Linked DNA regions of Homo sapiens: regions 1, 2 and 4 are each linked to region 3. The links are contacts of gene promoters, found by promoter capture Hi-C in blood cells and fetal thymus (Javierre and others, 2016). All regions are on one chromosome and are shown on one strand. Each heading gives the region's core, a stretch centred on a gene start or on the middle of the fragment in contact. The rest is flanking DNA. Distances are from core to core; before and after follow the strand shown. Region 1 overlaps PPFIBP2 (PPFIB scaffold protein 2). Region 2 overlaps PPFIBP2 (PPFIB scaffold protein 2). Region 3 holds the start of TAF10 (TATA-box binding protein associated factor 10). Region 4 holds the start of PPFIBP2 (PPFIB scaffold protein 2).

Region 1 (5,701 bases), core at 545-3,044, 970 kb after region 3:
GGAGCCCTGGGTAAATGCAGAGTGAAGCAGAGACAGGAAATCGGGGCTCTCAGTAATGAGTTCCAGCCACTCCAGAAGGGGGAAGCCAGACAAGGAATTTTCTTCAGGACTGTTTCCCTCTGGCAGGCTCCGGTATTATCACTGAGAATGGTCCCGTGTGTGTGTGCGTGTGTGTCATGTTTACAACTTCTGTCCAAGTCTTCTTTCTTTTTTCTCTACCTTTGTGTGACATTTGATTTCTCCGCAGGGCTCTGAATCCCAGTCCTGGTGCGTGTGCGTGCATGTATGTGCGTGTGTGTGTGTGTGTGTGTGTGTGTGTGTGTTTGTTGGGGTGGTCGGGGAGGACACTGAAGCAGCACGGTCTGCTCTGTGTCGCTGTGTGTCTGAAACTGTCTAGGGAGAGGCTGAAGGACGCAGGCCAGGGAAGTGGGGAAATTTGAACACAGCTTGGAGTTCTTGAGGGGGGAGGGGGCAGAGGCAAGGAAGAGGAGAGAACTGGTCTCCAGCCAGGAAAAGGGCTTTTTCCACCAAGGCATCTAACTGCTGACATGGGTGCCCAGCATGGATGGGGACATTGATGTTTACAAGCATTTCTCGTGGCTGAAGAGGGTAAGTGACTGGCTGCTTTGTCTGGGTCTCCGTGGAGATAAGTGAGGGGGAGACGCTTTGGGGTGTTTTGGGGTGTGTGTGCCTGTGTGTGGTAGGGGGAGGTATTGTCCAGCAAAGCCCTGCTGTGGCCAAGTTCTTCATGAGAATCTAATTATAGACACCAGGGAGAAAACAGTCAGCTGTCTTTGTTTCTCCACTGACATTCTAGTGAATGAGCCTCTGTACAGAAAGGCAAGAATGGAGTGAGGAAAGTTGGTTATTTTAACTTTGGCACCTAAACAGTCAGAGGCTCCAAACACCGTGACCAGAAGAATGTGCCCACCGCTTTTCAGTTTGAGGACACAGGGAGGAAGCTGCTGCCTTTTTAAATGCATTGGATTCGGAAGTTGTTTAACTCGTTCTCACTCTGATGTTATCCGGTGGAGCACACATCTGCTGTCAGCAGAATGAGCTTCTGCATTTCCGGAGGAAAGCTTTCAGGGAGTTCTCTTTGAATGCTCTGAAGCTGAGGGTTTATGTTGCAAGTTGTTCATGCCCTTTCTTTAGAGGATAAACCTGAGTGTGTGGTATGAGCAAGGAATGAACGGACGTTGGGGGCTGGAGTAGCATCATACTCCTAGAATTCAGGCTGTTTCCTCTTTTGTGGCTGCCTTTAAATTGGCTAAGATAGGTATGAATTTATTTTCACACGAAGGGATTTTAGGCTGAGTGTTTTTCAGAGGCAGGAAGGGCAAAAGCAGCTGACAGGTTAGAGATTTGACATTGTAACTGCAGAAGGACAGAAGAACCAGGAAGTGTCCAGCTTGGAAGGGGCATGCAGATGCCCGGACCCCGACTCCCGGACACTGAGCTGGCTGGCTTTTGTGTGAGTGCAGCAGCACTCATTCAGCAAATCTGTACTGAGTTTGGGTACTGGGTGTATAGTAGTGAGCAAAATAGAACCAGCCTCTTGTGGATCTTCTACCTAATACTGGAGATGTAGGTGAAACAGTCCCAGGAAATAAACCTCAGATTACAAACAATAAGTGTGCCTGGAGGAAGAACAGAAGACACGGGACTGCTGTTTTGATGGAGAAGGGGGTTGGGGCGGTCAGGGAGTTTGAGGAAATTATACTTCGCTGAAAACTGAAAGAGCAGTAAGAATGAGTCAGGTGAAGAATGGGGTGAAGAACATTCCAGGCAAATGGGGCATAGGGGATGATGTATATACAAAGGTCCTAAAGCAAGATGGAGTCTGCTGATTGTCCAGATTGAGAGAGAGCCCATGTGGCTGAGCACAGTGATGGCAGACAGAGGCGGGCAGAGGCTGGGATCACGCAGGACAGTGAAGGCCACGGTAAGGCTTTTGGGCAACCTGGTTTGTGTGCTGGGGGACTTGTAGCAGGGAAGTGACATGGGATACATTGGGGGGGGTCTAGTTTGTATTTTAAGAAAATTACTCTAGCTGTGATGTGGTATATGGTAAGCTATGTTGGGAAAAGTGAGGCAACTGAACACAATTATAGGGCTGGAGGGCTTGGAGGGATGGGATAGTACAAACCCCTCATTTAACAAAGCCCAAGAGGGGCTAAGAACCTCATGGTATTAGTGTCATAGCTATTAGTGGTGCAGCCTGGTCTTGAACCCTGTTCTCTATCTCCCAGTCTAGTTCTCTTTATTCATTTTCTCTGCCAAATATGTATAAAATTATTGCTTTAGAACCCAGCAGAAATCCTGTCTGTGCCCAGCCCCTAGGGCATCACAGTCACCAGAAAGCATGCTGAGATGACCAGACGTTTTGGCAAAGGTTTGCATCATCTTAGGTTTTTTTTTTAAGCCCCACTGGGGAGATACTGAAAGGAAATATGTAAGAAATGCACTGACCATCACTTGGTCCTTCTTTCCCTGTATCCCAAATGAAGCTTTTAATCAAGAAATCCTTTCAGCCAACATGTGCCTGGGATTGTCAGAGCCTTGTCCCAGCCCCTGGGGCAGATACTGTAACTCTGCCTGCTACAGGAGAAGTTATGTGTGTGGAGGAACTAATTTTGCATGTGATGCAATGTAAGAAGGCCCTTCTTGTCCCAAGACCCAGGGTATGCTGGCTCCTGTGGACAGTTGGAAGTTTGCTTAGGGAAACTTTAAGCAAGGAGACTTTAGAAACCCCCAGGATGACTCATAGCAAAACAGATATTTTTCTTCTACTTTTAGAATTTTAAAGAGCATTTTACAAAAGCAAAACTCAAAGTGTAGACATGTCATTGGCAGTGTGATAAGAGTATTTTCACTATTCTCTACCCTAAACACTACTGCCAGATTTTTAAAATCTTCTTAAAAAAAAAAACAAAAAAAACAAATTCCCTTTCGTCCTGTGACCCCAGTGATGAGCCCCCCTGGACTCACCCTTAATCTGGAAGAAAAATCAGGCCCTTCGGCTTGCTTGGCCTTTGAGACCATTAGCAGCCCAACCTCAACTTACCTTTTTAGTTTTATCTTTTATATCTACCCTGATGAGCTCCCAAGTGTATTTCTTCCCTTTTCTGAGCTTTTACCACAGATGACCACCTCCTCTCTAACTCTCATCCACTTCAACTGACTCCATCCAGGCTGTCTTTTCCCAGGAAACCTCTGCTGGCCCTCCCTCCCCACCTCCTGTAGCCCAGGTCTGCAGCACTTCCCATCTGCATGGCTCACCCACCCTTTCTCCTGTGCTTCAGCTGAGGTGGTGTGGAGAGCTGGTTTCTCTGAACTCATGCTTTTGAAGGTAGAAACACTATCGTCTTCATTCTCCTTTACAGAGGGCATAGATTCTGGAAGAAGAGGTTCCTGGTGCCAGAGCAGGAGCCCTTGCCCTTTGAGCAGTCCAAGGTGGTGGTGTCTCAGGGCAAAGGGGAGATACTTATGTTCAGAGAGGCATGGAGCTGGAGGGGAAATATTTGCTCAGAAAAGAAATCTTGCTCCAGGGCCTGTGTGGGATGGGATAGTATATACTATTAATATTACAGTTAAGAACATGGAGTCTGGAGTGAGGCCTGAATTAGAATCCTGGCATTGCCACGTTTACCAGCTGTGTGATCCAAGGTAAATTATCTCAAAAGTCTGGATTTCTTTAACTATAAAATAAGGGAGATAATAGTACCTACCACATACAGGCTTTATGAGGACTCAGTAAGATAGTACGATTAGTGCAGTATCATGCATGTAGGAAATACTCAATAACATGCTTGCTATTAACTGCTATTGGTGATTATCAGGAAGGGAGAAGTTGAAAGAGGAACAGATGGAACCAGGTTCTCTCCTAGAATTGCCTCTCAGGCCATTCAGTGCTTCAGCTTTATGACCCTTCCCATACTCCAGATCAAGGTCTCAAACCAAGCATATTGAAGACCTAGAAAAGGCAGCTGCAACCTGGGCCACCATAGGTGACCAGAGGCCTCATTGGCTGCTGGATCTGGCCAGCTTGGCTGTGGTTGCTGAGTGAAGGCTGATCAGGGCTGATGCTCTAGTTCATTCTCCTAACAGACAAAGCCTAGGGATAAGGTAGTCTCTTGCCACAAGTATCCAGAGGGACTCAGTCACAAACAGCTCACACCTGTTCTACATTGAGTCCAGTGGATCCAACCCACACAACCATGAACACACCTCTAAAAATAGCTCCGAGCAGGGTCTGTGGGACCCACCCACTGCTCTTTCGGCAAGAGTTCATTTTCCCAGGAACAGAAATCCCAGACTGTCAGCATCTTCACACTGCTTCCTGGCTTCCAGCACTCTCAGTGCTTAAGCAAATTCCAACTGTAGGTCACAAAGAAAATGGAATCACTACAGGTCCCCCATGCAGTTGGCTCAGGTTCTGCAGTAAAAAGTGGAATTAACTCAAGCTGCTAATGTGAGACTTTATTCTGTGTCATCTGGTGCTCAAATGGTTGATCTAGTAGCCTGGCCACTTGGGCCAGAAGAGCTGCAAAGGCAGACACGGAGGTCTCCTCACTCCAGACACTGACTTGCCTTGCATTCATGTTGGACTGCAGTGAAAGTTACAGAAATAGGCAGCAGCTTCTGTGAAGGCTGTTCCTACTAGTTAAGAGCATGGATCCTGGATCTAGATTCCTTGGGCTCATATCTCACCTCTGTGTAGACTTGGGCAATTTATTTAACCTTCCTAGAATTCAATTTCCTTGATTATATATATGGATAAACAATTCTATAGATAGATAGATAGATAGATTTTTTTTTTTTTGAGACAGAGTCTAGGTCTGTCACCCAGGCTGGAGTGCAGTGGCACAATCTTGGCTCACTTCAACCTCCTTCTCCTAGCTTCAAGCGATTCTCCTGCCTCAGCCTCCCGAGTAGCTGGGATTACAGGCATACACCGCCATGCCCAGCTAATTTTTTGTATTTTTAGTAGAGATGGGGTTTTGCCATGTTAGCCAGTCTGGTCTCGAACTCCTGATCTCAGATGATGCGCCCGCCTCAGCCTCCCAAAGTGCTGGGATTACAGGCGTGAGCCACCGTGCCCAGCCAATTCAATGTATGTTAAGTGCTTAGGAAGCACTTTATAAGTGTTAGAGTTATGGGGAGGATGACATCGATCAGAACTGACAACCTCTGGTTACTCGGGAGCCAGGTACCCAACCTTGATTCTGAAAAGAGAGGTTTTTCAATCCTATGGGAAAGGCAACAGTGGATATGGTCACCCAAGGGCACTAGCTTCCTCAATTTCCTATGATACCTCCTATTTCTGGCCAACACACCCGAGATGCCTGTACATTATGTTTCCTGGTATAATTTAGAAGCTAGAATTCTGCCATCTCTGACATCCAGCACCTGTAACTCCTGCCAGCTCCTTGAAGAGAGGCCTCTTTTACCCAGTGGGATTTAACAAACTGGCATCACACCAGGGTCATTTGCTGAACAACTTGTGGGCACTACAGAGCAGCACAGCCATTGTTGGTTTTGTGGACTGGCAGCAGCACTTAGGGATCCTTTGACTCATCCCTGCTTTTCTCTGTCCCTTCCTCCATAGCAGCTCTTTCACACTTTTCCATTAGTCTTCAACCTTATACTCCCCTTTCAACTGATGTCACTACCAATGTCATAGGAAAAAAAAAAAAAA
Region 2 (5,862 bases), core at 348-2,847, 920 kb after region 3:
CTTTATGGAAAGGAAGAGCTGAGAAAGATGGGAGAGAGGTCCCAGGAGATCATTAGACCTTCCCACTCCCCTGGAGTCCAGCTAACAAACTTCCAGGAGCAAAACCACTTGGGCCTGCAGGGAAGGGGCTACCTAGTACAGTGTCATTCTCCAGCAGGCCTGTCTTTGGCCTGCAGGAACACTTGTGCAAGTGGGGGATTCCTAGATCACTTTTCTTGGGAAAGTCCCTAAACCACTTTCTGGCCTCTGAACTCTTAGGGGAGGGAAGTGATCCAAGTGGCAAATATCTTGTGACTGGCAAGCCAAGGTTAGGGACCAACCCTTCCCCTGCCTCCCCACATGCTGGAGCTTTTGAACTGAGTTGAAGATAGCTGGGCCCAGGGCTCTTGGCCCTTGAATGCAGCTTGACATCTGGTCAGGCTGCAGGATCTTAGGGTTTCCTCTTTGTAGCATCCTAAAATCTGGCCTCACTAAATGGTCTCGGTCCAGAGGTGGGATTCGACTTAGAGCTGACTTACAAAGAATACAGATAAAGGAATATTGGGAACTGTGCTTACCTTGATGTGGTTTAAGGTCTGAGGATGTGAAGAAAGTCTCTCCTGGATTAAGAGGGAAGGGGAACACCAGTGGGTCAGGATAGAGGCCGACAGCCCTGGAGAGGAGGCTGCCTTCTTCCCATAACTTTCCCAGCTGCGTGTGTAGGATCAAATGGGGGTGTGTGTTAGTTTGCTTGGGCTGCCATAACAAAGTACTGGGGGGCTTACACAACAGAAATTTATTTTCTCACAATTATGGAGGCCAGAACTCTAAGATCAGGGTGTTGGCAGGGTTGGTTTCTTTTGGGGCCTCTCCTTGACTTTTATTTATTTTTTATTAATTTTTTTTTTCTTTTTGGAGATGGAGTCTCACTGTGTTGCCCATGCTGGAGCGCAGTGGCACGATCTTGGCTCACAGCATCCTCCACCTCCTGGGTTCAAGTGAATCTCCTGCTTCAACCTCCTGAGGAGCTGGGATTATAGGCATGTACTACCACACTTGGCTAGTTTTTGTGTGTGTGTTTTTAGTAGAGATGGGGTTTCACCATGTTGTCCAGGCTGGTCTTGAACTCTTGGCCTCAAGTGATCCACTCACCTCGGCCTCCCAAAGTGCTGGGATTATAGGCATTAGCCACCATGCCCAGCCTCTCCTTGACTTTTAGATGGCTGTCTTCTCCCTTTGTCTTCACATGGTCTTTCCTCTGTACCCATGTGTCCTAATCTGCTCTGCTTTTAAGTACACCACCTATTGGATTAGGGCCCACCCTAATTATCTCATTGGAATGTAATTACCTCTTTCAAGACCTTATTTCCAAATATAGTCACATTCTGAGGTACTGGGGGTTAGGACTTCAACATAAGAATTTTGAGGGTGTGGGTACAATTCAGCTCATAACAGGGTGTTTCCAAAATCCTCATTGAACAAGGCTCAGTGTCATGGTGAAGCATGGAGAGGCACTTACTACTGATCCTGCCAACCTTGGGACCAGGAGAGGATGGTGGACCCAGCTAGCTAGTGGAGGAAGCCTGACTGGCCTCGTCCAAAGGCTCAGCTCCAGGCCGAGCTGTTTACTTGTAGTCAGGCTCTCTGGCAGCAGTAGTTTCTGTGCAGTGTCTTCATCTGGCTCCCGTGTGGCCCTCGGAACTCCAGTGAACACAGAGCTGCTAATACCCTCCAGCCCAGGCCTTCGGGGGAAGCCTCCTTCTCCTCTGATGGAGGCAGAGGCCAGGCTGTTGTTGACAGTGCACACAGGCCTGTCTTTAAAGAAATTCTTTGGTCTTCTACTGACTTAACTTTTTTTATTGCAAGGGGAAAAGCATTGCATTGAATCAAAATTAAACTGTTCAACAAATGTTGAAATGAAGGCTCAAATTACAGAATACATTTTGATTAATTCAATTAGTGTTTACCTCCAGCCTGCCAAATTCTGGGGCCTATTCCTCAGCAGGCAGCCAGGGAGGCTCGTAGGAGGGAGTTGGCTATAGGCAAAAGTTACGCACGCTCCAGCTAATAGAGAAAACTTACCAATTCATATCTGTTTTTTTTTGTTGTTGTTGCTTAGCATTCTAAAATAATGGAATAGGGAGAAGTGCCTGGTTTTATTATCTATTAGGGGAAGTGACATCCTTTTTTCTCATTGGTCCTTCAGGAATACAATTGCATCCATCAGTTATGTCTCTCACTCATGCCAGGCCCAAGCGTAAGTTCCCCTTATGGTAGAGACGCTTTCACCTCTGAATATCTGGCTGTAAGAGAGAAGGGACCCCAGGTGTGGAGAAAGTTCGATGAGAGAGGCTGTCATGGATAGCCCCCAATCCTTCTTTCAGAGTGCTGGCCAAGGTTACATGCCCAGCCTCCCTTCACTTTCCACTCAGGTACACAAACACTTAACATTTTGTGTCAACAAACATTTACTGAAGGTCCTGTGCCAGGTTCTTTGCTGGGCTCTGAGGATAGAAAGGTGAATGGAGCATACTCCTTGCTCTCTAGCAGTTAATCTAGACAGGGAGGCAGACACATTGAGAAATAATACAAATTATTATCATCTTCATAAATAATATAGACAGCTCTGACGATAAAGGTGTGTACCAGATATGACAGGAGCAGAGCTGAGGCATCCAGCACCTTCAGGGATGAGGGGTAATGGTGTTAGGAAAGGTTTTCTGGCAGTGGTCATTTGGATAAGGCCTTAGCATGGGTGGGATTTGAAAGTAGAGATGGAGAAAAGCACCCACGTAGAGGAAGTACAGAAAATGGGGTATTTCTGTATGCGAGGGTAGGACGTGGTCCAGTGAAGCTGGAACTCAGAGTGGTGAGGACTATAGCGGGGAAGGTTAACTGTATTAGAGGACTTTGGCAGAGCTGCAAAATGCAGCTTCTCTCCTGAAAGCACTGTGAAGCCGAGGAATGTTTGAGAGCAGAGGAGCATGTCATGAGCTCCATGGAACATGTCTTGCCTGCACAGGGAAAGAAAGACAGATTGCAGGGAAGTTGGCTAGAGGTAGAAAGCCCAGAGGAAGCAGCTTTTGCAATCTGGCTGAGAGATGATGAGGTTCTAAACTGTGGTGAGGTGAGAGGTAAGGAGAGTTTGGTGGAATGTTAGGACCTATTCAGGGAGTTTGAATGGCACTGTAGAAAGAGCACCAAATGAGTCATCAGGAACTTAGGTTCAAATCTCAGTTCTGCTGGAAGGGAAAGTAGAATTCTCTGCCCCCTGCCCTGAAAAGTCCACATCCCCAGGTGGTGGTTTGGTTTTTTGTGTTAGCCTGTTACTATAAAAAGAATTCAAATGTACACAGAAATAGAAATAGTAAAATGCATCCTCTTACCCATCATTTAGCTTAACCTCTTGCTTGTATTATTTTTTAGGGGGGCAATTTTTGAGATGAAGCTTTTTGGAAATATTCACTTTGAGGTTGCATTTGAAGCATTTCTCTGAATCTGTTTATGATCTGGTTGAGGCAATGAAATAATTTCACGTCCATTTGTTCCTCCCTGGAGGTAAATTGTGTGTATGCATGTGTGTTCTTTGCTGTAAGAAGGAAAATGAGGGTAGCTTCCCTTGAAGGGTAAGTTCTGGGGCTGAGGAGGCACATTGCCAACCGGGTCCTGTCAGGGGCATGAGGCTCTCTGTCTGCTGTGGGGGCAGGTGTGGTGTGGACAGGGGAGAGAATGGAGGTAAGGACTACCACAGGTCAGACACCCTTATCCATTCACTGGGAGGGGCTTGTTGCCCAGAGCTTAATTCACACTGACCAACCTGACAAGGCTGGTCCATAAGCCAGACACCAATTTAATTTACTCTGGCAGGCATTGTGCAGTGGCCACAACGCAAATGCCTGCTTTCCCAGACCGCCTTCCTGGCCTTACCCCACCTGGCAAAATGAATTACAGCATCATCCGCAGGTTGCTGGGGAGCCATGCTCTCAAATAGAAGGCACCATGTGCATTGCAGGTGCATCACTACAGGCCCTGATGGGACCTCATAGGCTCTTTCTGGTGCAGGCCACTTCCTTTGCCAAGGTGGCTCTAGGGAGAGGGGAGGATGGGCTGAGCTGCACATGCTCAGTTCCTTCTTTCATTTCCACCATCAGATACTGAGCTGTTTCCCAGGGGAGGAAATCCTGGAAAGAGAGGAAGTTAGTATCCTCCCATTGGGTCTTGCCCATGACAACATGAAGCAGAAACTAAATGGAGGTGGGAGCCCATGTCTCAGCCAAGATTCATTTCAACAGGCAGGGGTGGGGATGCTGTCATAGAGAAAACTTGCCTGAGCATTGAAAAATTAGTTTTGATGGACAGAGATTGGGGAAGGGGCCTTTAGTTGAGGAAACAGCATGACAAAGGCACAGTGGCATAAGGATGCTCTCTTGCGGCTGGGGTATCAGGAACCCAGGAGCAGGTCAGGCTCAGTGAGGAAGTGCGTCCAGCGTAGTGGTTAGGAACATAACCTTGGAGTTGGACTGCCTGAATTCAAATCTTATCTTTACTGCTTCCTGGATGTGTGATTTGACCAAGTCACTTAACCTCTCCAAGCTTCAGTTTCCTTATCTGTAGAATCGGGATAATAATAGTTATAAATATTGAGATATGAGATAAACATAAGAACTTAGCTCAGTGTAGAAGTGAGTGTTTAATAAATGGCAGCCATTATAACTACCATCATGAGAACAGGACATTTTCGGGCCGGCTCCAATTTGGATGCCAGCTCATGCGTTCAGACTGCTGTGGGAGAGGCCAGGTGTTACTCAGGTGAGAGGAGGTTCTCCAGTGCCCTGGTTCTGAATACCTGAACACAGTCTGGGCAGTAGGAGTGGAAAGGATGAGATGGAGAAGAGCATCCCTGCAAGGGGAGACCACAGAGACCTGGTGGCTCACACGGGAGGGGAGTAGGGTGGGGAAGCATGACAGGTGAATGCAGGCTGCATAGTTCAATGAGGGACCCGGAGAGCGCTTCTCCCAAATGCCAGAGGAGGAGAGTGTCACCACTGATGAGATGCCAAAGAAGGCACTAGAGCAAACGCTGACTGATGGCGAGTCTAAGCGCTTTACTCTGTTAACATTTAACCTTCACAACCACCCTTTCAGGTAGGCAGTTTTATTATTATCCTCATCTTAAAGATGAGAAACCCGAGGCACAGAGGTTAAGTGTCTTGCCCTGGGACATATAGTTTCTGAATCAGGGCTGTCACCGAGGCAGTCCAACCCCAGCCTGGGCTTTTAACCCCACCCTAGACCGCCTCTTAAGGAAATGGGAACACAAGCGGCTGGCTGGATGAGAGCATGGCACGGGTGCACACGGATGAGTGACGTCCCACCACTGGGGGTGTCAGAGAGCACGGGAGGTAGGCAGTGGGGCTCTGAGGCAAAGGGGAAACATGGAATAATAACAGTAGGGTGCAGGGTCAAAGGACATGTTCTAGAATAGCAGAGGAAGGAGCAGAAGAGGGAGAGAGTGCAGATTCAGTTTGGAGGGGGAATAATTGAGAGGTTGGATCTCAGTGATGATCGAAGATTAGGGGTCACAGGGAGGAGGGGCAACTCTTAGACAGCATGTGAAGAGAGGGTAAGAGATGAGAGAAGGGGAATCAAGTGGTTTTGTTTCTCATTAAAGAAAGATGCATGGTAGTTTGCAGAGGGAGTCTGACACGAAGAAACATGAGATTAGAGATCCCAGGCGCATGAATGTCTGATGGAGCCGTATGTGTTGTGTAGCATCCCGGGAGCAGAAGGAAGAAGAGACATGTGAACCTGGTTCCCCAGGCAGAGGGAGAGTGAGCGTAAGTTGTGACCAGAGAGGTAGAATGAGCTGAGGAGCACGTTCAA
Region 3 (3,713 bases), core at 403-2,902:
AAATTTGACATGATTGTGCCTATCCTTGAGAAGATGCAGGACAAGTAGGACTGGAAGGTCCTTGCCTGAACTCCAGAGGTGTCGGGACATGGTTGGGGGAATGCACCTCCCCAAAGCAGCAGGCCTCTGGTTGCCTCCCCCGCCTCCAGTCATGGTACTACCCCAGCCATGGGGTCCATCCCCTTCCCCCATCCCTACCACTGTGGCCCCAAGAGGGGCGGGCTCAGAGCTTTGTCACTTGCCACATGGTGTCTCCCAACATGGGAGGGATCAGCCCCGCCTGTCACAATAAAGTTTATTATGAAAACAGGCTGGTGTGGGGACATGGGGACAGATAAGTACATTTAGGTTGGGTGGCTCAGGTGAAGTAGTGCGGCTTCTTCACATTGATGCCATACTCGCTGAGGGCAGGGGTCAAGTCCTCCATGGTTAGAGTGTACTTGCGGTCCTGAGGGAAGAGGGAAGAGCACCAACTGAGCACAGGAATCCCGGACTTCAATCCCAGATGGGTGACCCTGAGTAAGTCTTACACCTCCCCTACGATTCAGTTTCCCCAAAGGGGTGGCAGGATAAGCCTCCACTGTTGTGGAAGGTAATTACTGATTCATTAAGCCTCCCCTCACACCTTGCTCTTGCTCCGGGAGCTGCCGGAGGCCGTGCCCTTCATTTTGCAGTGCTGTAGGGCATCATTGGCAATATCTGAGATGAATTTCTGGGCAGCTAAGGAGATGAGCCGAATTCTAGAGAGAAAAAACTTAGATGAGAAGGAGATGGACAACATACTGCACAAGCACCCAAAACTAACCTGCCCTGGGTTTACTCACATGCGTGGGTCTGAGGCCTCAAAGCCAGCACGGTTCAGGTAGTAACCAGTCACTGCATCTGGGATCTGAGAAATCAATTAAGAGAACTGTCAGCAGAGCGGGAGGAGGGTGAGGGAAATGGATAGGCCTGATTATCAGGAAGCTCACAGTTTGGGTGAGCAGAGGGCAAACACAGAAGAGCGACTAGGGGAGCAAATGGAAGAGAACGCTGAAAAGCACGATGTGGCTGAAAGTTTTGACAGCAGGCTAGGTGGCCTTGTTCGGGCGGAAGCCCACCGTAGGCGTGTAATCTTCCAGCTGCATCAAGAAGTCCACCAAAGGCGTGCTGGACACCACGGGCTTCACGTCTCCGTTGGCCGCGCTCGGCAGTACGTAAACCCCGTTAGATATGGCCCCCTCCGGGGGCGCCGCGCCACCCGCCGACACCGGAGCTGGAGGAGAACCAGCAAAATGAGACACAGAGGTGGGAGGCGCAGGGCCCCAGCTAGGTCTGTCTATACCCTCTGCCCTCACCCGCCGCTGGACCCAGCCCAAGACGCTTCCCTCGCCCTCACCCGTCCCGGCCCTCACCCGCCCCACGCCGCTCAGCTGGCTCCCCGGCCCGCGCCGCCAAGGGTCCCGTGCCCCCAGCAGCTGCTCCAGCCCCAGGTCCCCCCGCTGTCCCCGCGGGGCTGGCCTTGTTCTCCGCGGCGGTGCTGGAGGGCAGCGCGGCGGGAGCCGAGACCGGGGGCGCGGGGCCCGGGGCCGAGGCGGCGGAGGCCGGCGCCGCCTCGGGGTCCGCGCCGGAGCCGCTGCAGCTCATCGGGCCGGTGGGAGAGGCGGCGAACAGAGCCGCTTCCGCTTCCGCTCGCGCCGCGCACACCCCGGGGTGACGTCACGCGCCCACGACTCGCCCCGCCTGTCTCTGTTAGTGCTCTCCAGCCCGCTCCCCGCCTCCTCCCATAGTGGATCTGCGGGTTAGAGGAAATAGGCTGCAGGGCGGAGACCGAGCCTTGGCGAACTGCGCTGCCGTAGCCATTCCGCCCTAGCCTCTGCCGTGCTCCGCGGCGATTCCGTCCAGACCGGAACCAGCGTGCGTCTGGCTCTCCTCCGCCGCTCTGGGACACCTCATTCTGTCTGACGCTCAAGACCTGGCTTCGACGTTTATGGCCCTATGTCCCTCGACTACGGGTTGCCTGCCTGTCTGCATCGTTTCAAGTTCCCTTATTCAGCCTTTTAAGGATTCATAGTGGATTTGGAAAGCCCCCTCTCTTCTCCGCCAGCTGCCCCGAGAGGTGGGGGCAGCAGTGGGGCGGCACACAGTGCTGCTGTAGGAGGAGGAGGAGTTTCAGCCTGAGTCAACAACATATGCAAAAATCACAACGAATGAGAGGCGTGAGGTTTTCGGTGTAGCAGACATTTAATTCTTATTTGCCAACTCCTGAGCTAGGACCTGGGAACACAAAGTTAAATAGGACACGATTCTAGTCCTCTAGGCACCAACGGTCTTGGAAAGGAAGGCAGACAAGTAAACTGGCCATTTCAATACTACGTGGTCGTTACAATGCTAGAGGTAGGCACAGGGGGCGCAGTGCAAGGGAGGAAGGGCGTTAACATCTGCCACCTACTTCCAGGTGCCAAGCACTGTTATCAACATTATTCCACTTTATTCCCTGGTGATTATGAAAGGCAGGTATTGATATTCACACTTAACAGACGAGGAAACAGCCTCAGGGAGATAAGCTTACTTGACCCAGTCTCTCTCCTAGTCCATATCAGAACCAAGATTCAAACAGGTTTTGTTTAGAAAATCTAGGATTTTTCAGCCATACCAAAATAAAGTAGCCTCAGGGAATCAAAACATTCACGAAAGAAGGTGACTTCTGAACTGAGTCTTGCAAGAATTCTGGAAATTAACCTGGCAGTTGTATCAGGGGTGGTAAGGGGACGGAACAGCTTGAGCAAGAGTGAGAGTTCCTTGGGGTTTGGGGAGGGAGGAGGAAAAATGATTTTTTACTTAAGAACAAATAGCAAGGAAGGTTTGTGAGCTATGATTGGGGGCTGGAGGGGAAAGCCTGAATTCTATCCAGTAATCCTTGAAGGGTTTTCATCCAAGTGGCCTGATGGGATTTGCATTTTACTCTGGAAGATGACTTGGGGATTGGCAGGAAGTAAGGACACTTTTTTTCAAGAGAATATAGCCCTAAACTAAGGTAGTAGCAGTGGGGATATAAGTGGATAAGTTCTAGATATACTTGGGAAATATAATTGGAAGGACTTGTGGACTGATAAAGATATATTTAAGATGTGCAGTCAGTAGGACTTGTTGATTGAGGACTTGTTGATTGAAGGTGGGGTGAAAAGATGACACAGGTTTCTGGCTTGGTTGGAAAAAGCATAGCATCATTTACCAAGAAGAAACGAGATGGAATTGTTTGGGGTTGGGAAGGTGGACGATGAAATGTTGAGTATCACGCATCTTACATTTGAGGTATCAATCATTATTGGATAGAAAGTCTTATTTAGTGAGATGGTAATGGTTGTAGATGTCAGTGATTTGTTCCAGGGGACAATGAGTAAACTGAGAAGAGCAAAAATCTACAAATGGAGCAATGAAGGTCAGCATTCCATGAAGAAGCAGAAATTGATGAGAGAGGAAGACAAGAGTAGTCAGAGAAGTTAAGACCTGGAAGCTAAGTAAGGAGAGGGAGTGGGCAACTATGATGGAAAGGCCATAAAGCAAAGATTGAGAAGTATGCACTGGAGGCCATTGTTTCTGGATGTCAGGGTAGGAAAGAGTAAACGGTGACAGTAGAGGTCTCCTTGCAGTGAATTGGGGAATGAATATCAAGTGAAATAGTGCACAGAGTCTGTATACAACCCTTTGGAAAAGCCTGATTGAAAAGAGAA
Region 4 (5,682 bases), core at 459-2,958, 900 kb after region 3:
CCGGCAGTTGGTCGGTGGGCCAGTGGCCCGTCGCTCGCTTCTGGGCTCTCATGTTTGAAGGTGGGAGGGACACGGGAGCGGCCCGCACACCTGAGCCGCCCGGAGAGGAGCCTCGGCCCCGTACCCAGGTCAGTGGGCTCTCCCCACACCCCGGGCTTGCCGCGCGGTCGGGGTTGGGATCCCCGTCGGGAGCATTACCTAGGGAGTGGAGCGCCCCCAGAGCTACGAACCACGGGGACGTGTGGGTCAGTGTCTCTGTGAGCCCCGGAGCGTGTCCCAGGCTCGAGGACGGGGACCCTTCTCCAACTCCACTGGCCAGAAGCCTGGGAGGAGGGCAGAACTCCTGTGGGTTGGCTGCGAATCTCCACCCAACCCTGCCTGGGATCCGCGGACAGTCCGCACTCCTGCAGGTGCCAGCGTGGCCCTGGAGATGCGCAGGGAGGTGGGGTCCCTGAGTTCTGTGCGGCGCGTCCCAGCCCTGCTCAGCCCGGGGAGCAGCGGCGTGGACTAGGGAGCCTAAGGAGGTTGCGGAAGCTTTAGGTCTGTCAGCCCAGGCAATTCTCTGGTGGACACAGCGTGTGTCTAGATGCAGGGCCTCGGCTAAAGCCAGTTCTGTAGTGTAAGTGCAAAAATACAGCACACTTTTTAAAATCTAAAGCCGCCGCGTCCCAGTAGACTGCAGGATGGGGACGGTCCTATTTAAAAGTGGGCTCCCTCCTCACCTCATCACATCAGATTCCAGACCCGCAGTTTTTCCTCGGATGAAAATAAGATTATGTAACAAGAGAACAGAACTTCCAGCGTTTGGATAGGATTAAGACAGGCATTCTTGCCAGTGTTTAATCTTCTTAAAAAACGAATCTAATTATATTTTTACTTTTAGAGCAGCCAGATATTTGGTATAGATCCGTGTCCCTTTTCTATATTTTGGTCTACTTCCTGTCTTTCTCTTCGTCTCTCTCCTTTCTCAACCCCTCCTTAATTGATTGTAATACAAATCTGAAGTGTTTTCAAATTTGTAGTGTATTATGTGAAGTTAAATGGTCAACTACAGAAAAGTAGTTGGTTTTCGACATAATTCATCTTCAGCATATTCAGTCTTTCATTATTATAGGTGTATGGAAAGCTGTAAGTGTTATCTAATTTAGAAATTATTTCTCTTTGGCTTAAGAGAGGCAACCCATTTGTACTTTGCTTAAATTCATAGCTAAATAAATTTGAAGTGGGAGATGGGGATGATTGATGAGGTTTTCACTGATTGCATTTATCCATGTTTTATTTAACATATTTCAATTATTAGTAATACTATTTTAAGATTTGGTGATGTGACAGTTGTTAGCTTATTGCTACTGGAGAGATAAGCTGCTTACCATGATGCCTTCTTTACTGGGTAGCTAAGGGAGATGCGCTTTGACTTTAAAAGAGTAAGTGGAATGAGATCAATGACATGAAGGCGGTAGGAACAAAGTTATGGGAATTCCTGTCTTTCATCTGAGCAGGGAAATCTGGGATAATTTTAAGAAAGGGTGATGTGATGGACCTCAAAGGATCCCTCCTGGGGTTTTTGAGGCAGAGAAGGGTAGAGTGTGGCCTGGGCTGTGACAACTGTGTGGGCAGGCAGGCATGGACTCACCATGAGAAGTGGCCAGTGGTCCAGCTTGGCTCTTATGTCAAGTGCTAGTCAGGAAAGCTGGTGACAAGGCTGGAAAATAGTCCCAGCTGTCCAGTACAGAAGTCTGGACTTGGTCTGAAGGCACAGCAGGGGACTGACTGATGGTTCTGTGAACTTCTCAAAGTCAAAGACCTTGGTCCTTGACCCTCCCAATTCCTAGCCTGATACAGAGAAAATCCAGTAAATATTTGTGGAGTGCATGGTCTGACAACACTGTAGAGCAGAGCTTCTCAAAGTTGAGAATCCTGTGGGGATCTTGTTCAAATGCAAATTATGATTCCATAGGTCAGGGGTGGGACTTGACATTCTGTGTTTCTAACAGATTCCCAGGAGCTTGCTGATCATTTCCCTATGTGTAGCAAGGATTTAGAGTAGCAGTTTGCAAACCTGGCTATGCCTCATAATCGCCTGGGGAGTTTTGTAAAACGTTCAGATTAAGTAGTCTGGGATGTTTTTACCAAGTTCCCCCAGGTGATTCTGTTGACAAACCCGAAGGCAACTGCTGCAATGGCAAAGTTCTGGGAGTGTGGTGGGAAGCAAACTCCAAGGGAAAAAGACAGTGGGGGCGGCGAGGCCGGATAGGAAACCGGGAGGCTGATCCAGGGTCAAAGGGATGAGGCCTTATTTTGGGCCTGAGAGAGTGATGAGGTGGGGACAGGTAGGGAGACTTCGGAGAGATAGAATCTGTAGGACAGAGGACTAGGGAATGGGACAGTCTCTAGACTGATTAGATGCAATGAGAAGTGAGGAGGGAGAAACAATGCTGGGAAGATTCAGCTTTGGGCCTGAGGAATGGTATGGCCTTTAGACTGTAATGTTTAAGGTAAAGTTTATGAAAGGTTCTTGTATTGGTTCGAACCCCGAGAGCCTGCCAACAGACAACATGAGGCGGTGTGGGGCAACGTGCTGTTTTAACGAGCGCCTGGGTGCAGGTGGGCTGAGGCCTAAAATGGCGTCAGCACCAAGTGAGGACGAGGCAGGGGTTTTATAGTTTCCTGTAAACAAGAAGTGTCTCAGTCTGATGTAACTTCTGCACAGTACCCAGACGGCCCCTCTCTCTGTCTTCAAGGGGTACGTGTCTTCCAGCCAGGGTAGGTGTCTTCTGGCCGGCTGTCTTCCTGCTTCTGCTGTCTTGCTGATGCACACTGCTGGCGCAACTGGCCTTGCACCTTGGGACTGGGCCTGAGAAGGGAGGAGTTACTCATCTCTTCAAGCTTTCAGACCCCGGGGAGAATCTTTCATTCCTGTCTATTTGGTTATAGTAAAAAGGGAAAAGGGGTGACTTTCTCAATAACTACTTCAGGCGTGACTTAGGGGTGGTGTGGGCTCCTTGGAAAAAGAAAAACTTAATTTTTAGGGTATTCTTGAGAGATGTGTTGGTATCCATCGTGTCGTTGTAGCAGGAGCATAGTCTGAATTGTCTGGTGGCTAACTGTAGTTTCAATAAGAGTTTTAGTGGCTTTTATTATTAGTGGGATAACACAGGGGAGAAAAAGTGATGAAGATTACTGTCCCTACCAGGGTTTTAAATCCTCCTAAATTAGAGAACTGTTGTCCGGCTGCTAGAGTGAGAGCTCGAGTGAGGGTGATGAGTTCAGCTTTTTGGGAGGTGGTGCCTGGGAGGAGCAGATTGGCTTCAATAGTGTGGGGTCTTTAAGGGTAATGTGGACAGGGGTGTGGTGTTTTGCAACTGAGGGTGTGGAAATATCCCTAACAGCGGGGTTAACTACAGATAGGGGTAAGGAAAGGTTGCATGTTTTAGGGTGGGAGGTTGGAGGAGCAGAAGAAAGCTAGAAGCCTCGGAGGGGTCTGGGTTGATGCGTTGGGTACTACGGGGAATGTGGAAGTGGAGAGTAGTGTGGAGTTTTGAAAGGATGTCCCTGCCTAGGAGCAGAGTTGGGAATGAGACCAGGTTTGGGGTGAAAAAGTGAGTGAAGGAAAAGGTGTGCAGGAAGCAGAAAAGTGGAGGGGTGGCTCGGGGTTAGGAGACTTGTCCATCAATTCCCACAACAGAGACTTAGGAGGACTGGGTGGGTCCTGAAAAATTAGGTAAAGCAGAGTAGGTCACCCATGTTGATTAAAACCATCAGGGTTACCCTTGGCTCGGATGAAGTGATGGTAGTTGCCGGGGCATCCATTCCAGGGCACCATCAGTCTTCAGCGGCAAGGCAAATGAGATCCGAGTAGGAGGTTTTGGCCTGCTCAGGAAGGGATGGGGGGCGGTCCCTGCAGGGGCCGCTCATAGTCCGACTTCCAGTGGGGTCCTCCGCAGAGGGGGCACGGCCTGGTGGGCTTACCTGGGTATGGGCATTGTCTGGACCAGTGGCTTTCATTGCCGTACTTGAAACAGGCGCCAGGTGGAGGTGGATTGCTAGGAGGCTTCTGTGTGGAGCTGTGGCCCCGTGGGCCTGCAGGGCCCCTGATGGCGGAGGCAGGCATTTGAAACTCTGCCTGTTTTTGCCTTTTACTTTCCTCATCATGATTGTTAAAGACTTTGAAGGCTAAATTAAGAAGGTCTTGTTGTGGGGTTTGAGGGCCGTCGTCAAGCTTCTGAAGCTTGCACCGAATATCGGGAATGGATTGGGAGATGAACCGAAGGTTTAAGATAGTGGTTCCTTCTGGGTTGGCTGGGTCTAGGTTGGTATATTTTCTCATGGCTTCAGTTACATGAGAGAGAAAAAGGGCTGGGTTTTTGTCAGGACTTTGGGTGATTTCTGGAAGTTTTTCATAGTTTACCACTTTATGGGCACCCTTTTTGAGTTCTGCAAGGAAACACATAATCGTGTGGTCTCGATGGCAGCATCTAGAGGCCCTGTCTTGATAATCTCAGTGGGAGTCCTGGTTGGGGACTGCCTCTGCACCAGTAGGCTTGGCAGGAGCTTGTTGATGAATTGTGTCAGCATGCACCTGAGCTAGGGTCCAGACACAGTCCTGGTCTTCTGGGGTGAGGGTGGAAGAGGGGATAACGTAGAGGTCATGCCAAGTTAGTTCATAAGACTGGGTAAGGTACTGAAACTCCCTGATATAAGAGGTAGGGTCGTCTGGAAATGAACCGAGTCTTTTGTTAATTTGAGAGAGATCAGTGAGGGAGAAGGGAACATGAACTCTTAACAATACCTTCAGCTCTTGCTACTTCCCAAAGGGGACACTCTAGCACTGGCGCTGAAGTGAGGGTGGGGCATGAGCCAAAGATGGCGCTCGAGCGAGTATGGGCGGGAGAGAAGGAAGAAGTCAGAAGTCGTTCCTGCTGAGGGTTTGAAGGGGAAAGGGGGTTTGAGTTGATAAGCAGTGGAGGACAGATAGGGGCGTAAGGTGGCGGGATGGGTTTACAGGCTTCAGGAGAGGGCAGTGAGGAAGGAGAATGAGTACAGGCAGTGCTAGAGTTGTCCTCAGGAGAGGACAGTGTAGGAAAAGAAGTGGGTACTGCTGACTGGGAAGATGGTGGCTGGGAAGATGGCAGCTGAGAAGATGGCGACTGGGAAGATGGCAGCTGAGAAGATTGCGGCTGAGAAGATAAAGAGGAGGCTTGCGGGGTTAAAGAAGATGGTTGAGAGGGAGAGGTAGAGTCTGGGAGGAATGGACAGCAGTCTGCTGGATCTAACGGGGAAAAAGAGGTATGGTCGGGAGGAGAAAGGCGATCAGGGCTGCGAGAATGGAGGAGAAGGATTTGAACAGGTGAGCAAGAATTGCAGAGGTCGGGTTGTGATCTGAGTGCCAAAAGGCCTGGAAATAAGGAATTTCTTCCTATTTCTTCGGTCGTTGGCAATACTTGCTTAAATCAGTTAAAACTGTAAAGTCGAATGTTTCATTTGCCGGCCATTTGGACCGTTATCTAATTTGTACTGTGGCCAGACTGAATTGCAAAAAAAGAAAAGGCGCTTAGGGCGGATATCTTGCCTGAGGCCTAAGGTTTGCAGGTTTTTTATGAGGCAGCCTAGAGGGCTGTTTTTTAGAATGGAGGGCCGGGAGTTTCCCATAATGAAGGGTAGGCACAGGAGAACAGGGAAAAA

What was found. Contacts are between HindIII fragments. The CHiCAGO score rates a contact against its expected background, and 5 or more counts as called.
Region 1: a fragment that was not itself captured here is called in contact with the fragment with the promoter of TAF10 in region 3 in 1 of 17 cell types (M0 macrophages); the score reaches 7.0 in M0 macrophages.
Region 2: a contact is called between a fragment that was not itself captured here and the fragment with the promoter of TAF10 in region 3, in 1 of 17 cell types (M0 macrophages). The highest score is 5.1, in M0 macrophages.
Region 4: a fragment that was not itself captured here is called in contact with the fragment with the promoter of TAF10 in region 3 in 1 of 17 cell types (total CD4 T cells); the score reaches 6.7 in total CD4 T cells.

The regions. Positions count from the first base shown.
Region 1 is chr11:7,577,030-7,582,730 of GRCh38, forward strand. All of the region lies in intron 3 of PPFIBP2 (PPFIB scaffold protein 2), which reads left to right. It overlaps LOC105376535 (a long non-coding RNA gene), which reads right to left. Exons shown (of 4, transcript XR_007062579.1): 3 at 4,231-4,380. Among named protein-coding and RNA genes, the nearest start is that of PPFIBP2, 66 kb to the left of the region's middle. RefSeq lists a silencer at 909-1,143 and an enhancer at 1,214-1,293. The HindIII fragment of the contact is 1,428 bases long and covers 1,081-2,508 here.
Region 2 is chr11:7,530,960-7,536,821 of GRCh38, forward strand. The region is part of intron 1 of PPFIBP2 (PPFIB scaffold protein 2); the gene reads left to right. All of the region lies in intron 1 of LOC124902806 (leucine-rich repeat extensin-like protein 5), which reads right to left. Among named protein-coding and RNA genes, the nearest start is that of PPFIBP2, 20 kb to the left of the region's middle. RefSeq lists an enhancer at 176-345. The HindIII fragment of the contact is 3,655 bases long and covers 1-3,425 here.
Region 3 is chr11:6,610,564-6,614,276 of GRCh38, forward strand. TAF10 (TATA-box binding protein associated factor 10) reads right to left here and starts at 1,653. Exons shown (of 5, transcript NM_006284.4): 1 at 1,395-1,653; 2 at 1,101-1,255; 3 at 825-889; 4 at 626-740; 5 at 1-448. The coding sequence starts at 1,626. The coding sequence ends at 359. It overlaps TPP1 (tripeptidyl peptidase 1), which reads right to left. Exons shown (of 13, transcript NM_000391.4): 13 at 2,205-3,713. It overlaps ILK (integrin linked kinase), which reads left to right. Exons shown (of 13, transcript NM_004517.4): 13 at 1-307. The coding sequence ends at 48. RefSeq lists enhancers at 268-856, 857-1,444, 1,900-2,029, 2,080-2,129 and silencers at 1,300-1,499, 1,510-1,609. The HindIII fragment of the contact is 6,165 bases long and covers 1-2,544 here.
Region 4 is chr11:7,513,994-7,519,675 of GRCh38, forward strand. PPFIBP2 (PPFIB scaffold protein 2) reads left to right here and starts at 6. Exons shown (of 24, transcript NM_003621.5): 1 at 6-128. LOC124902806 (leucine-rich repeat extensin-like protein 5) reads right to left here. Exons shown (of 4, transcript XM_047428005.1): 2 at 125-612; 3 at 1-47. RefSeq lists a silencer at 1-101 and an enhancer at 2,587-2,636. The HindIII fragment of the contact is 2,352 bases long and covers 533-2,884 here.